Regions from separate parts of the Homo sapiens genome. Here region 2 is linked to region 1. The links are contacts of gene promoters, found by promoter capture Hi-C in human tissues and cell types (Jung and others, 2019). All regions are on one chromosome and are shown on one strand. Each heading gives the region's core, a stretch centred on a gene start or on the middle of the fragment in contact. The rest is flanking DNA. Distances are from core to core; before and after follow the strand shown. Region 1 holds the start of CCDC169 (coiled-coil domain containing 169). Region 2 has its middle 19 kb from the start of CCNA1.

Region 1 (6,434 bases), core at 2,250-4,749:
ACTGGGTACATGAGGACGTTCCAGTTACCCTGCCAACGCAGCTACTTGATAAGTACACTGAGAGCCTGCCCCCAGAGACTGAGGTTATATCTAAGATATAGATATGGAGATAGAGGAAGCTACTTCAGCCTTGGGACAAAGTAGTATTCTGCAACCAAGCTTTAACAAAGCACTGGGTACTTATAGAAAGTGGCATTTTATTTCCCATATGGCCACTATTCCTTTTTGTTCATGGCTCCCCAATTGAGGAAGAGTATAAATGTAGCAGGACGAGCCACAGACAAAACCCCTCAGACACCAAGTTAAAGAAGGTAAGGCTTTATTCGGCCGGGAGCATCAGCAAGACTCACATCTCAAAAAAATGAGCTCCCCGAGTAAGCAATTCCTGTCCCTCTTAAGGGTTTAGAACTCTAAGGGGGTCTGCATGAGAGGGTTGAGATTGATTGAGCAAGCAGGGGGTACGTGACTGGGGGCTCCATGCACCAGTAATTAGAACAGAACAGAACAGGACAGGGATTTTCACAGTGCTTTTCCATACAATGTCTGTAATCTATAGATAACATAACCGATTAGGTTGGGGGTCAATCTTTAACTACCAGGCCCAGGGTGTGGTGCTGGGCTGTCTGCCTGTGGATTTCATTTCTGCCTTTTAGTTTTTATTTCTTCTTTCTCTGGAGGCAGAAATTGGGCATAAGACAATATGAGGGGTGGTCTCCTCCCTTATAAATGCCCACCCTGATAATCCTAATAAAGTCCTCCTGTTCTTTAGCATTCAGTTCAAACAATGCCTGTTCTGGAAAGCCTGTCTTTATTAACTCACCCGAATTCTGTTAGGTTTCCCTTCCCTAAGTTTTCATTTATCCTTACATAGAACTTATATGACTTCTCATATCCATAATCTGATTTGATACTTTCTCCCAATAGTCAATGAACCTCTTTAGAACAGGGAAAACAAAGGTCTTCCATTTAAAGTGTTGACATATGGCAGGGTCATATCTTGCATACATTACAAATTTTAAGGATATATGAGTGTGTAGGTACACAGCATCCTCCACACCAAACACACATTCTTCCAACAACAATAGCTAAAACCTAGATACGGATTTTAAACATATCCCAAACCTAGAAGTTAAGATATAAAGAGTGTAACTTGAGGTGAATAGAAAACTGGTGATATTTATTTAATAAAGAAATAATATATTGATGTCATGTAACAAAGTTTTTGCTAATTAATGAACATTTTGAACTTGAAAGGTAGAAAAATAATTAAATAGTAATAGGTTTGATATTCTGAAGTATCAGTTTTAAAGCCTCTATCATAAACTATCATTAATGTGGCCAAAAAGCAATACTGAAATGTTGGTACTATTATTCAATATATGGAATTTAATGCACCATAGATATCCTGGTAAAATGAACAATAATTATACAGGAGTCACAAATATAAGTATTTACTTATATACCTTCATTGTCAGTATTGAGTTTGGCTTCCAGTTCCGTAATCTTGTGTCTTAGTTCAAATATTGAGAGTTGCACTGCATCCCTGTTATTTAAAATATTTTTGTTGATTATAATTCAATTAAAAATAACATCAGAAAAATAATACATAGTAACCCACTACTACTTCAGGAACAATTTACTATGACACATTATTTACTGAAGGACTGGTTAAGAAATAAGACTCAGGCAAAGGAAGGCTTCCAATTAGTCAGTTCTAGGACTCAAATATGCACTAAAGCTCAAAGACCCCCAGGCAACCATTAGAAATCTTTTATTTATTTTTATTTATTTTTTTGAGACAGAATCTCGCTCTGTCGCCCAGGCTGGAGTGCAGTGGTGCAAACTCGGCTCACTGCAACCTCCGCCTCCCGGGTTCAAGCAATTCTCCTGCCTCAGCCTCCTGAATAGCTGGGATTACAGGCATGCGCCACCAAGCCCTGCTAATTTTTTTGTATTTTTAGAAGAGACAGGGTTTCACCATATTGGCCAGGCTGGTCTCGAACTCCTAACCTTGTGATCCGCCCAGCCTCGGCCTCCCAAAGTGCTGGGATTACAGGCGTGAGCCACCAGGCCCGGCCCTTGGAAATCCTTTATTTTTAACTTAAATATCATCCTAAAGAAGTTAGTTACCTGGTTTTTCAGAACCAAGCAAATTAGGCACTGCACATTATTACAGAAAGGCATACCTAGGGCAATACATAACAGCTGACAAACTGAAACAAAGAGAAAAAAACAAACACTAATTTAAAAGGTTAGCTATTTAGGGCATCAGTAAATAGAACATTATCATATGACAGGGCCATTTATTCAATAAATATTTTTGAGTGCCTATTATGTTCAAGGCATTGTATTAAATACGGAAGAATTCAGTGAACAGTGAACAGAAAAATAGCAATAGCGGCAGCAAAGTTCCACTGGATGCGTATCACAAGCCAATGCTAAGTTCTTTATAGTGCATTTCATTCCAACCTGGGAACAACAGCAGGAGGTATGAGATGACTATTTGTATACCAGTCTTAGAGCTGAGAAAACTGAGGATTAAAGAGGTTAATTAACTTGTCTAAGATTGCATAGTTACTGAGTGACAAGAGATGGAGTTTGTGTTTTTGCAGGACTGTCCTCAAGTACTTGCTCTTATTCTCTACTTCCTCAGAATACACAGAACCTGTCCTCAGAACGCGTGTAGTTTGGTAGCAAAACAAGAAATAGACAGGCAATTAAAATACTGTGACTGGAGCTACAATAGAGGAAAACCCAGAACCCTATCTAGGCACAAAGGAGAGTCCAATTCTCACGGGACTTGTGGATGGAGTTGGGAGTATGTCCAAAAAATACTTTAAATGTTTCAAAAATTTAACACGAAGTACGAATACTGTTTTTAAAAAGCATAAAGGAGGAGTAACAGTTTTACTAAATGTCATTTTATGAAGTTCCCCTTAAAGGGATGAAAGAAAAAAAAAACCCCGTATAACTAAATAAAATCTTTGGAATTTTAAGCAGAAAACCTGGATTTATGGAGACATCAAAACCAAACACAACTTTTGGCATTACAGTATATGGGCAAAATACACGCCATATGATTGGATCCTTAAGGGCAGCACATCCTACCCGGAAAGCTGCCTACTTAACAATACCAAAGGCTTACTCAAAGAGGCACGTGAATCTTTCGCATGGAATACTTTTGGAACCCAGACCGAAGTGCCCAGGGGTTAATCACGGCGCCGGTCTTACAGCACCCTCAGCGGCTTCAGCCCTGAGACTCTGCAGGTGAAGGCTCGGGGGGTGTGGACGGGACCCCACACCGCGCCGCCCGCCGACTCACTTCTTGCGGACTTCTTCCAGCAACTGCTGTTTCAGGCGGTTGGTGCTCACACCGTCGAAGTTGTAGTTTCTCTCTTCCTTCATAGTGTCAGGCCAGAGACCTCCCGCGTCTTTCCCCTCAGCACCTTAGAGCACAAGACATTAAGGGCCACCCAGAAGCCAGTACGGCACGAGGCGGTGAACCCCAACCGCCCCCCGGTCGCACCTCCCGCGCCTGCCCGCAGAGGCACGTGGTGACGTCATAAAGCGATGCCCGCAGGCGGCAGGGGGTGGGGCGAGGGCAGCCGGGGAGACTGGAGAAGCCTACTCTGTGCGGTGGAGCGACCCTGGATAACAGCTCCAGGGACACTCCTTGCTCAAGACGCTGGGGTTAGACGTGCTCCGGCTACACAGCGGAGTGTCAGGGGGCCAAGAATATCCCTCTCCTTTTTCTTCCCTCCTGCTGGCTTTGGTTGCTTTCCTAAACATTGCCCCGGACGGCAAAGTCGGCTTCACTCTTAGCCCTTGTTAGGGAAACGCTGGATCCAAGATTAGCTGCGCCCTTCTTTGCTTCAGTTGAACAAGCACCAGAGTCGCTGATTTGGCAGTGTCGGAGCGGGAGGAACTGGTCTTAAAAAGGTACCTCCTGAACTCGGGAAGACTGCTAACCCTCCAGATTATTGTTTTGCATCTGTGTGCTGTTCATGAACATACCTCAGAGCTGCTCACTGCAACTTGAAATTTCATTATATTTTTAATCACAAAGTTTGCATCCTACCCTTGATACATCTGTGTTTCCTTGACAAAAAGAGACAAACTCTGTAAAATATTTGAAGAGATTTATTCTGAGCCAAATGAGTGACCAATGGCGGGTGACAGCCCTCAGGAGATTCTGAGAACACGTGCCCAAGGTGGTCAGGGTACAGCTTAGTTCTATACATTTTAGGGAGACATGGGACATCAATCAAATGCATGTTAAGATATACACTGGTTCCATCGGGAAAGGCAGGGCAATTGGAAGGGGTGGGGGACGGGGTGGCTTCCAGGTCACAGCTAGATTCAAAGATTTTCTGATTGGCAATTGGTTGAAAAGTTACTGACTAAAGACTTAGGAATGTCTTTAGAGAATAAAGGGGTTGTGGAGACCAAGGTTTTAGTGAGAATGGGATAATTGGTGTGGAAAACACAATTTGGTGTCAGAAGTGTTGTGAATACATAGTTTTCCAATTGAGTTTCTGGATGAGATTAACATTTCAATTGGTAGACTGAGTATAGTACATTGTCTTCCCCAATGTGGGTGGGCCTCAGCCAATCGACCGAAGACAGAATAGAACAAAAAGGCTGACCTCCCAGGAGTAAGAGGGAGCTCCTACAGCCAAACAGCTTGAGCTGGAACACTTTTCCAGCCTTGGGCTCAGACTGGGACTGCACATCAGTTTGCTTGCATCTCCAGCTTGTCAACTGCAGATCCTGAGACTTCTCAGCCTTCATAATTGTACGGGCAAATTCCTTATAATAAATCTTTTATACACACACTCCCTATTGGTTCTGTTTCTGTGAATTACCCTAATATAGGAGGTATGCTTATCAAAATTTTGTCTAGCTGTTAAGTCTGAAAGGGCAACTCACAACCAAGTAAACAGAATAGAATGAAGTGAAAAGGACTAGATTATCTGTTGACAAATCCAAATATACAGAGGATTTCTTTTTTGAGACGGAGTCTCATCTGTCTCCCAGGCTGGAGTGCAGTGGCACAATCTCAGTTTACTGCAAACTCCACTCCTGTGTTAAAGCAATTCTCCTGCCTCAGCCTCCCAAAGTAGCTGGGACTACAGGCACGCACCACCATGCCTGGCTTAATTTTTTTGTGTATTTTTAGTAGAGATGGGGTTTCACCATATTGCTCAGGCTGGTCTTGAACTCCTGACCTCGTGATCCACCCACCTCTGCCTCCCAAAGTGCTGGGATTATAGGCATGAGCCACTGCACCCGACCCAGAGGATTTCTTAAAAAGATCTGTTAGCAGGATCTCACTGTGGGAAATTAGGAGCAAAGGCAAGCAGAAAACAGGTTTGTCAACAACTACAGAAACCACAGATTTGTGTTTCTGGCAGAGATAAAGGACCTGAATTTACCCTCCTGCCTGAAACAACTAAAAAACTAAGAGGAACAAAAAAAGAACATTGAACATCAGGCAATAAGGGAAAACGATCACCAAGAGATGAGACACAAATGAGGCAAGCTCCCAAATTGGCCTGGGCCTGCCAGGGTACAAAGCAGAAAGGGAGAAAACAGGCAGAGGCTGGTGGTTGCCCTAAGTTGAGGAAACGGAGTTTCTCTAAGAGTCTAGAGAGAACAAGGCAGCTAGACTTTGCAGGGCAGATATTGGAGGGGAGAGCTGCACAGGGTGTTCCCAGACCAAACTGAGGGTTGGGTTGCTATTTCTTGTGACCCAGTAAGAACATGTAGATGAACTGGGGAGGAAGAGAGTTTTTATTTCTGGAACCAGTTACAGGCAGAAGCCCTGGAAACTATAACCAGACCAACTCAAAATTACAGTTTTCCAGACCTTCTAAGCTATATGTCTATGTGTAAGTGTGCATTCATCTATAGACATTAAGTGGTTAACTTTTTATAATCTACAACTAAGGTCTTGAGTCCTGAAGACCTTCCTCTGGAGCCTCAGTAAACTTAATCTAAATGGGTCCAGGTGCTAGGGTGATTACCCCTGTCTCCTGCTAAATCAGGGAGGTTTGGGGATTCCTTCAGAACCCCAAAAAACTTGTTTAATCCTAAATGGGTCCAGCTAAGAATTCCTTCTTTTTTTTTTTTTTTTTTTTTGTCATGCTTTGAGACCTAGTTCTTGGTGGGTTTTTATTACATTCCAGCCTTTGTATAAGGGCTTTGGTTTTTTTAGCTTTTAGTATTTAACTTAGCCACTCAAGTCAGTACTGAAACAGTTGTTATGGAGGCCTGTGTTAATGAGACCTGGCCTGCCACAAGGTACACTCTGCAGCAGAATACTGATGAATGCACACACATGGTGGGGCAAGTACTCAGGCTGGGGAAAGAACCATCACAAAGGATTAGAGGGGAAATCCTTACAGTTTACAGAGGTAGGAATAATACCTGCT
Region 2 (6,621 bases), core at 2,641-5,140, 120 kb after region 1:
TTTGTTTTCAGAAATAAGTAATTGCTTTTGTCAGTCCACAGAAAGCTGTTGACCATCTGCTATTCCTAATACTTTGAACACTGTGGAAAAAGTGTCAGAAGTAGAATAATAGTGCATTTATGATTGTTCTGGGAAACAAGAAACCAAGAATTGGACAAATTGTCTGGGTGCAGTGGCTCATGCCTGTAATCCCAGCACTTTGGGAGACCAAGGAAGGAGGATTACCTGAGGTCAGGAGTTTGATACCAGCCTGGCCAACATGGTGAAACCCTGTCTCTACTAAAAATACAAAAAAGAAAATTAGCTGGGTGTGGTAGTGCACGCCTATAATCCCAGCTATTCGGGAGGCTGAGGCAGGAGAATTGCTTGAATCTGGAAAGTGGAGGTTTCAGTGAGCCAAAATAATATCACTACACTCCAGCCTGGGTGACAGAGTGAGACTCCATCTCAAAAAAAAAAAAAAGGAATTGGACAAATGAAATATGTAGACATAGTCACTGCCTATGAGCCAAAATACAAATTTTTCTTTTAAATGTTAACATTACGTTGAAAAAGAAAAGAAACTGTATTTTCCTTAGTTTCATTATGATAGAGATATAACAATATTTTAATTAAAATGTATAAAAAGAATAATAATCTAATTCAGGGTAAAAATGCTAATGTACACAGAGAGCTTATGGTGTGACCTGAGTTTGCACAGGTGAGTGAGCTGTAGTTCTTTTCCAACAGAAGTCCATGTGCGGATCTGGACCTTTCCAGGTAGCAGTTCTGACCATGGCCTTCTAGCATGCACTCTCCTGGCTCACACCACCCCACAGATTGAGAAGAAAGCTTTCTCTGCCAATAATCCCATCATTTCTTTGTGATACACATTAAGTAAGACTCACTGAATTACTTCAGTGAAATCTTTGTTAAATGGGCCTTTGTGTATATGGTACTGTGTTTGGTTGCTTGTATTCAGAAATTAATCACATTGATAATGCGTCTGCTCCATGAAAATCTGTATTACTGTATTAGTTATCACACAATAATACAAAGGGAAAAGAAACCAATTTAGTAAAAACACAGACTATGTTATTCATAGATTTGAACTGAAGGATAATTACTGAAAGCTAAGCTTTTAAAATAATATATATGCTGATTAAAAGGCAACCCTAAATATGAGGTGGCTCTCTGTTTTCATAATGGAAAAATACAAAAAGCTTTTTGGTCAACATGAATATATGAACACAATGGATGTTAACAAAATAGTCAATGTTTACTTGAGCTAGTTAATATGAATCTGCTTATACAATTATATTTGAAATAATATTATAAAAATGTGCCAATTTTGAAATATTTCTTCTCATTTCAGAAATAATTTTACTCAAATTTTCTTCAAATTCTTGAAGACAAGAGTCTTCATTATCAGAAGAGCCACTGTTTGAGCCATCTAATTTTTTCCAATTTTAAGTATCTTGAGATAAAACAACTTTTAAGATAAAATACCTTTGGATTGGCATATGATACTATAATTGTAAGTTTTATTCCAAAACAAAGTAGCCAATTGTGAAACAGTAGAACAATTGTTTTTCATTGTCCTATGAGACTTACATTTGTTATCTCCACAAAGCAAAGGTGAGTTGCTTTATGAAAAACTGATCTTAGTAATCTTGTTTATATCCATATCCCAGCACTACAATTTGAAGGTCCTACCTGGAAGAATAATTACCAAATCTGTACTAAAAGGCTTTGTCTTTTTATTAGCTCAGTTAGATGACCTTTTAAGATTCCCCATATAGCTCTAATTGACATCTTTTCAGGCTAATTTGTCTTTCCTAAATAATTTGTAATTAAAATAGAATAATTGGAAGAATACTTCCATCAAACAAGAATCTTGGAGAGGGCTTGGATATTAAGTGTCTTAGTTCATTTGGGCTGCCACAGCAGAATACCATAGAGTGAGTACCTTATAAACAACAAATATTTATTTCTCATAGTTCTGGAAATTGGGAACTCCAATATCAAGGTGCCTGTAGATTCAGTGTCTGGTGAGGACCCGCTTCCTTATTCATAGTGGCAGTCTTCTCATTGTGTCTTCACAGAGCAGAAGGGGAGAGGGAGATCTCTGGGGTCTCTTTTATGAAGACGCTAGTCCCATTCATGAGGTTTCCTCCCTCATGACCTAATCAACTCCTAAAGACTCAGTCTCCTAATGCCATCACCTTGGAAGTTAGGATTTCGACATATGAATTTGAGGGGACATAAACATTTAGTCTATAGCGTTAAGTAACTCTTTTTCTCTGAGGACTAATTTGGTAAAACACAAAAACAAACAACATTCTTCAAATAACCTGGTCTATATTTTGGCTTAACAGTTACTCACATTTTGTTGTAGTTTTGTCTTTGGTATTATTGTTCTTTAGGGTAAAGTTTTTCAATCATTGAAGCCACAGAAAATCTTTAAGGTATTTACCATATTCATGTTTAACCATTTACACACTGCTATAAAGAAATGCCTGAGACTGGGTAATTTATAAAGGAAAGAGGTTTAATTGACTTGAAGTTCTGCATGGCTGGGGAGGCCTCAGAAAATTTAGAATTGTTGCAGAAGGTGAAGGGAAAGCAGGCACCTTCTTCACAAGGCAGCAGGAAGGAGGAGAGGAGGGAAAACTGCCATTTATAAAGCCATTAGATCTCGTGAGAATTCACTTGCTATCATGAAAACAACATGGGGGAAATCACCCTATGATCCAATCATCTCCCACCAGGACCCTCCCTCAACATGTGGGGATTATGGGAATTACAATTTGAGCTGAGATTTGGGTGGGGACACAGAACCAAACTATATCAACATGGCATGGTGGTTTTAACCACGCCTACAAATTCTTTGACACTACTCCTATAAAAAGATAGAACCCAATTCCGCTTCTCTTGAATATAAGCCAACCTAAGTGACTCAAGTTTAACAAATGAAATGTTCTGAAAGTGACATTGTGTGAGTTCTGAGGCTAGGTTGGAAAAGGCAAGATAGTGTCTGCCTGGTGATCTTTTTATGTTTCTGTCTATCCCTGTTTCTGAACCAGTGCCATGTTTTGAGGAAACCCAGGCTCCATGGAGAGGCCAATAGCCAAGACTAAGGTCTCAGCCAAAAGCAAGCATCATCTGCCAGATATGTAAGTGAATGAGCCATCAGATGATTCCCGTGGCTAGTCTTTGAGCTGCCTCAGCTAACATCAAGTAGAACTCTGACCATCTTGTAGATTTGTGAGCAAAATACATACTGTTGTTGTTTTAAGTTACTAAGTTTTTGAGGTGGTTTGTTATGCAACAGAAGATAACCAAAACACACAGATCATAGGACTACAGAACAGTATGTGTCTTACAGAGTAAATGCTTAATAAAGAATTCCCAAATGAATAAACACATGAATATGATTATAGTAAATCAAAGTGAATATAATTTCCATTTTCCAATGGCAACACTGATACATTTTTTTCTGACATCATTATTCCCAAAATGCTGTTATGGACTTAACTGTGCCTCCCTCCCAAATTCCTGTGTTGAAGCCCAAACCTCCAGTGTGACTGTATTTGGAGATAGGGCCTTTAAAGTGGTAATTAAGGGTAAATGACATCATAAGGATGGGGCCCTAGTCCAACAGAACTGTGTGTGGCCTTATAAGAAAAGGAAGAGACACCAGGGATGTATGCACAGAGAAAAAGCCATGTGAGGACGGGGTAAGAAGACAGCCATTTGCAAACCAAGGAGAGAAGCCTCAGGAGAAACCAAACCTGCTGAATCCTTGATCTTGAAATGCCAGTTCTGGAAATTGGGAACTCCAATATCAAGGTGCCTGTAGATTCAGTGTCTGGTGAGGACCCACTTCCTTATTCATAGTGGCAGTCTTCTCATTGTGTCTTCACAGAGCAGAAGGAGATAAAATAAGCACAATCAAAATGATAAAAAGGATATTACCACTGACTCCACAGAAATATAAACAACCATCAGAGACATTATAAATACTTCTGTGCACATAAACTAGAAAATCTAGAAGAAATTGATAAATTCCTGCACATATACACACTCTGAAGACTAAACCAGGAAGAAGTTGAATCCCTGAATATACCAATAACAAGTTGTGAAATTGAGGCAGTAATAAATAGCCCACGAACCCCCCCCCAAAAAAAAAAAACAACCCAGGACTTACAGCTGAATTCCACTAGAGGTACAAAGAAGAGCTGGTAGCAGTCCTACTGAAACTATTCCAAACAACTGAAAAGGAGGGACCCCTCCCTAACTCATTCTAGGAGGCCAGCATCATCCTGATACCAAAACCTGGCAGAGATACAACAAAAAAAGAAAACTTCAGGCCAATATCCTTGATGATCATCAATGCAAAAATTTTCCACAAAATGCTGGCAAACCATTGAATCCAGCAGCACATCAAAAAGCTTATCCACCACAATCAAGTAGACTTCGTCCCCAGGATGCAAGGTTGATTCAATATACGCAAATCAATAAATGTGGTTCATCACATAAAGAAAACTAAAGACAAAAACTACATGATTTTCTCACTAGATGCAGAAAAATCCTTCAATAAAATTCAACATCCCTTTATATTAACTCTCAATAAACTAGGTATTGAAGGAACATACCTCAAAATAATAAGAGCCATATATGACAAACCTGTAGCCAATATCATACTGAATGGACAAAAGCTGGAAGCATTACCCTTGAAAACCAGCACAAGACAGACAAGGATGCCCTCTCTCACCACTCCTATTCAACATAGTATTGGAAGGTCTGGCCAGGACAATTAGGCAAGATAAAGATATAAAGTGTATTCAAATAGGAAGAGAGGAAGTGAAACTATCTTTGTTTGAAGATAACAGGATTCTATTTTTAGAACACCCCATTGTCTCAACCCAAAAGCTTCTTAATCTGATAAGCAACTTCAGCAAAGTCTCAGGATATGAAATCAATGTGAAACATCACTAGCATTCTTACACACCAACAACAGGCAAGCTGAGAGCCAAATTACGAATGAACTCCCGTTCACAATTTCGACAAAAAGAATAAAATACTTAGGAATATAGCTAACAAGGGAAGTGAAGGAGCTCTTCAGGGAGAACTACAAACCACTGCTCTAAGAAATCAGAGATGACACAAACAAATAGAAAACATTCCATGCTAATGGCTAGGAAGAATCAATAACATGAAAATGGCCATATCGCCCAAAGCAGTTGATAGATTCAATGCTATTCCCATTAATCTACCATTAACGTTCTTCACAGAATTAGAAAAAACTGTTTTAAAATTCATATGGAACCAAAAAAGAGCCCAAATAGCCAAGGCAATCCTAAGCAAAAAGAACAAAGCTGGAGACATCATGTTACCTGACTTCGAACTATACTACAAGGCTACAGTAACCAAAACAGCATGGTACTGGTACAAGAACAGATAGAGAGACCAATGGAACAGAATAAAGAACTCAGAAATAAGACTGCAACCTACAACCATCTGGTCTTCAACAAACCTGCTAAAAACAAGCAAAGGGGAAAGGATACCCTATTTAACAAATGGTGCTGGGAGAACTGGCTAGCCATATGCAGAAAATTGAAACTGGATCCCTTCCTTACTTCATATACAAAAATAAACTCAAGATGGATTAAACACTTAAATGTAAAATCTAAAACTATAAAAACCCTAGAAGAAAATCTAGGCGATACTATTCAGGACATAGGCACAGGCAAAGATTTCATGATGAAGACACCAAAAGCAATTGCAACAAAAGCAAAAATTGACAAATGGGATCTAATTAAACTAAAAAGCTTCTGCACAGCAAAAGAAACTATCAACAGAGTAAACAGACAACCTACAGCGTGGGAGAAAATTTTTGCAGTCTATCCATCTGACAAAGATCTAATATCCACCATCTATAAGGAATTTAAACAAATTCACAGAAGAAAAATAACCCCATTGAAAGCTGGGCAAAGAACATGAACAGACACTTTTCAAAAGAAGACATACATTCAACCAACAAACCTATAAAAGAAAGCTTAACATCACTGATCATTAGAGAAATGCAAATCAAAGCCACAGTAAGATATCATCTCACACCTGTCAAAATGCCTATTATTAAAAAGTCAAAAAAACAAGAGATACTGATGAGGTTGTGGAGAAAAAGGAATGCTTTTATGCTGTTGGTGGGAGTGTAAATAGTTCAACCACTGTGGAAGACTGGCAATTCCTCAAAGACCTAGAGGCAGAAATACCATTTGACCCAGCAATCCCATTACTGAGTAGATACCCCCAAAATATAAATCATTCTGTTATAAAGATACATGCATGTGTATGTTCATTGCAGCACTAATCACAATAGCAAAGACATGGAATTAACCTAAATGCCCTTCAGTGATAGACTGGATAAAGAAAATGTGGTACACATATACCATGGAATACTATGCAGTCATAAAAAGGAAGAAGATCATGTCCCTTGCAAGGACATGGATGGAGCTGGAGGCCATTATCCTTAGCAAACTAATGCAAGAACAGAAAACCAAATACTGCACATTCTCACGTATAAGTGGGAGCTGAAGGATGAGAGCATGTGGACATGGAGGGGAATAACATGCATTG

Evidence for each region. The method cuts DNA at HindIII sites, captures the fragments that hold promoters and counts their contacts. A contact is called where the count stands out against the background at its distance.
Region 2: a fragment that was not itself captured here is called in contact with the fragment with the promoter of CCDC169 in region 1 in 6 of the 25 tissues and cell types used here (H1 embryonic stem cells, dorsolateral prefrontal cortex, hippocampus and 3 more).

What each region holds. Positions count from the first base shown.
Region 1 is chr13:36,294,315-36,300,748 of GRCh38, forward strand. It overlaps CCDC169 (coiled-coil domain containing 169), which reads right to left and starts at 3,500. Exons shown (of 8, transcript NM_001144981.3): 1 at 3,323-3,500; 2 at 1,464-1,543. The coding sequence starts at 3,405. CCDC169-SOHLH2 (CCDC169-SOHLH2 readthrough) reads right to left here and starts at 3,500. Exons shown (of 16, transcript NM_001198910.2): 1 at 3,323-3,500. RefSeq lists enhancers at 3,127-4,088, 4,089-5,051. The HindIII fragment of the contact is 10,512 bases long and covers 1-6,434 here.
Region 2 is chr13:36,409,795-36,416,415 of GRCh38, forward strand. No RefSeq gene overlaps it. Among named protein-coding and RNA genes, the nearest start is that of CCNA1, 19 kb to the right of the region's middle. The HindIII fragment of the contact is 7,245 bases long and covers 269-6,621 here.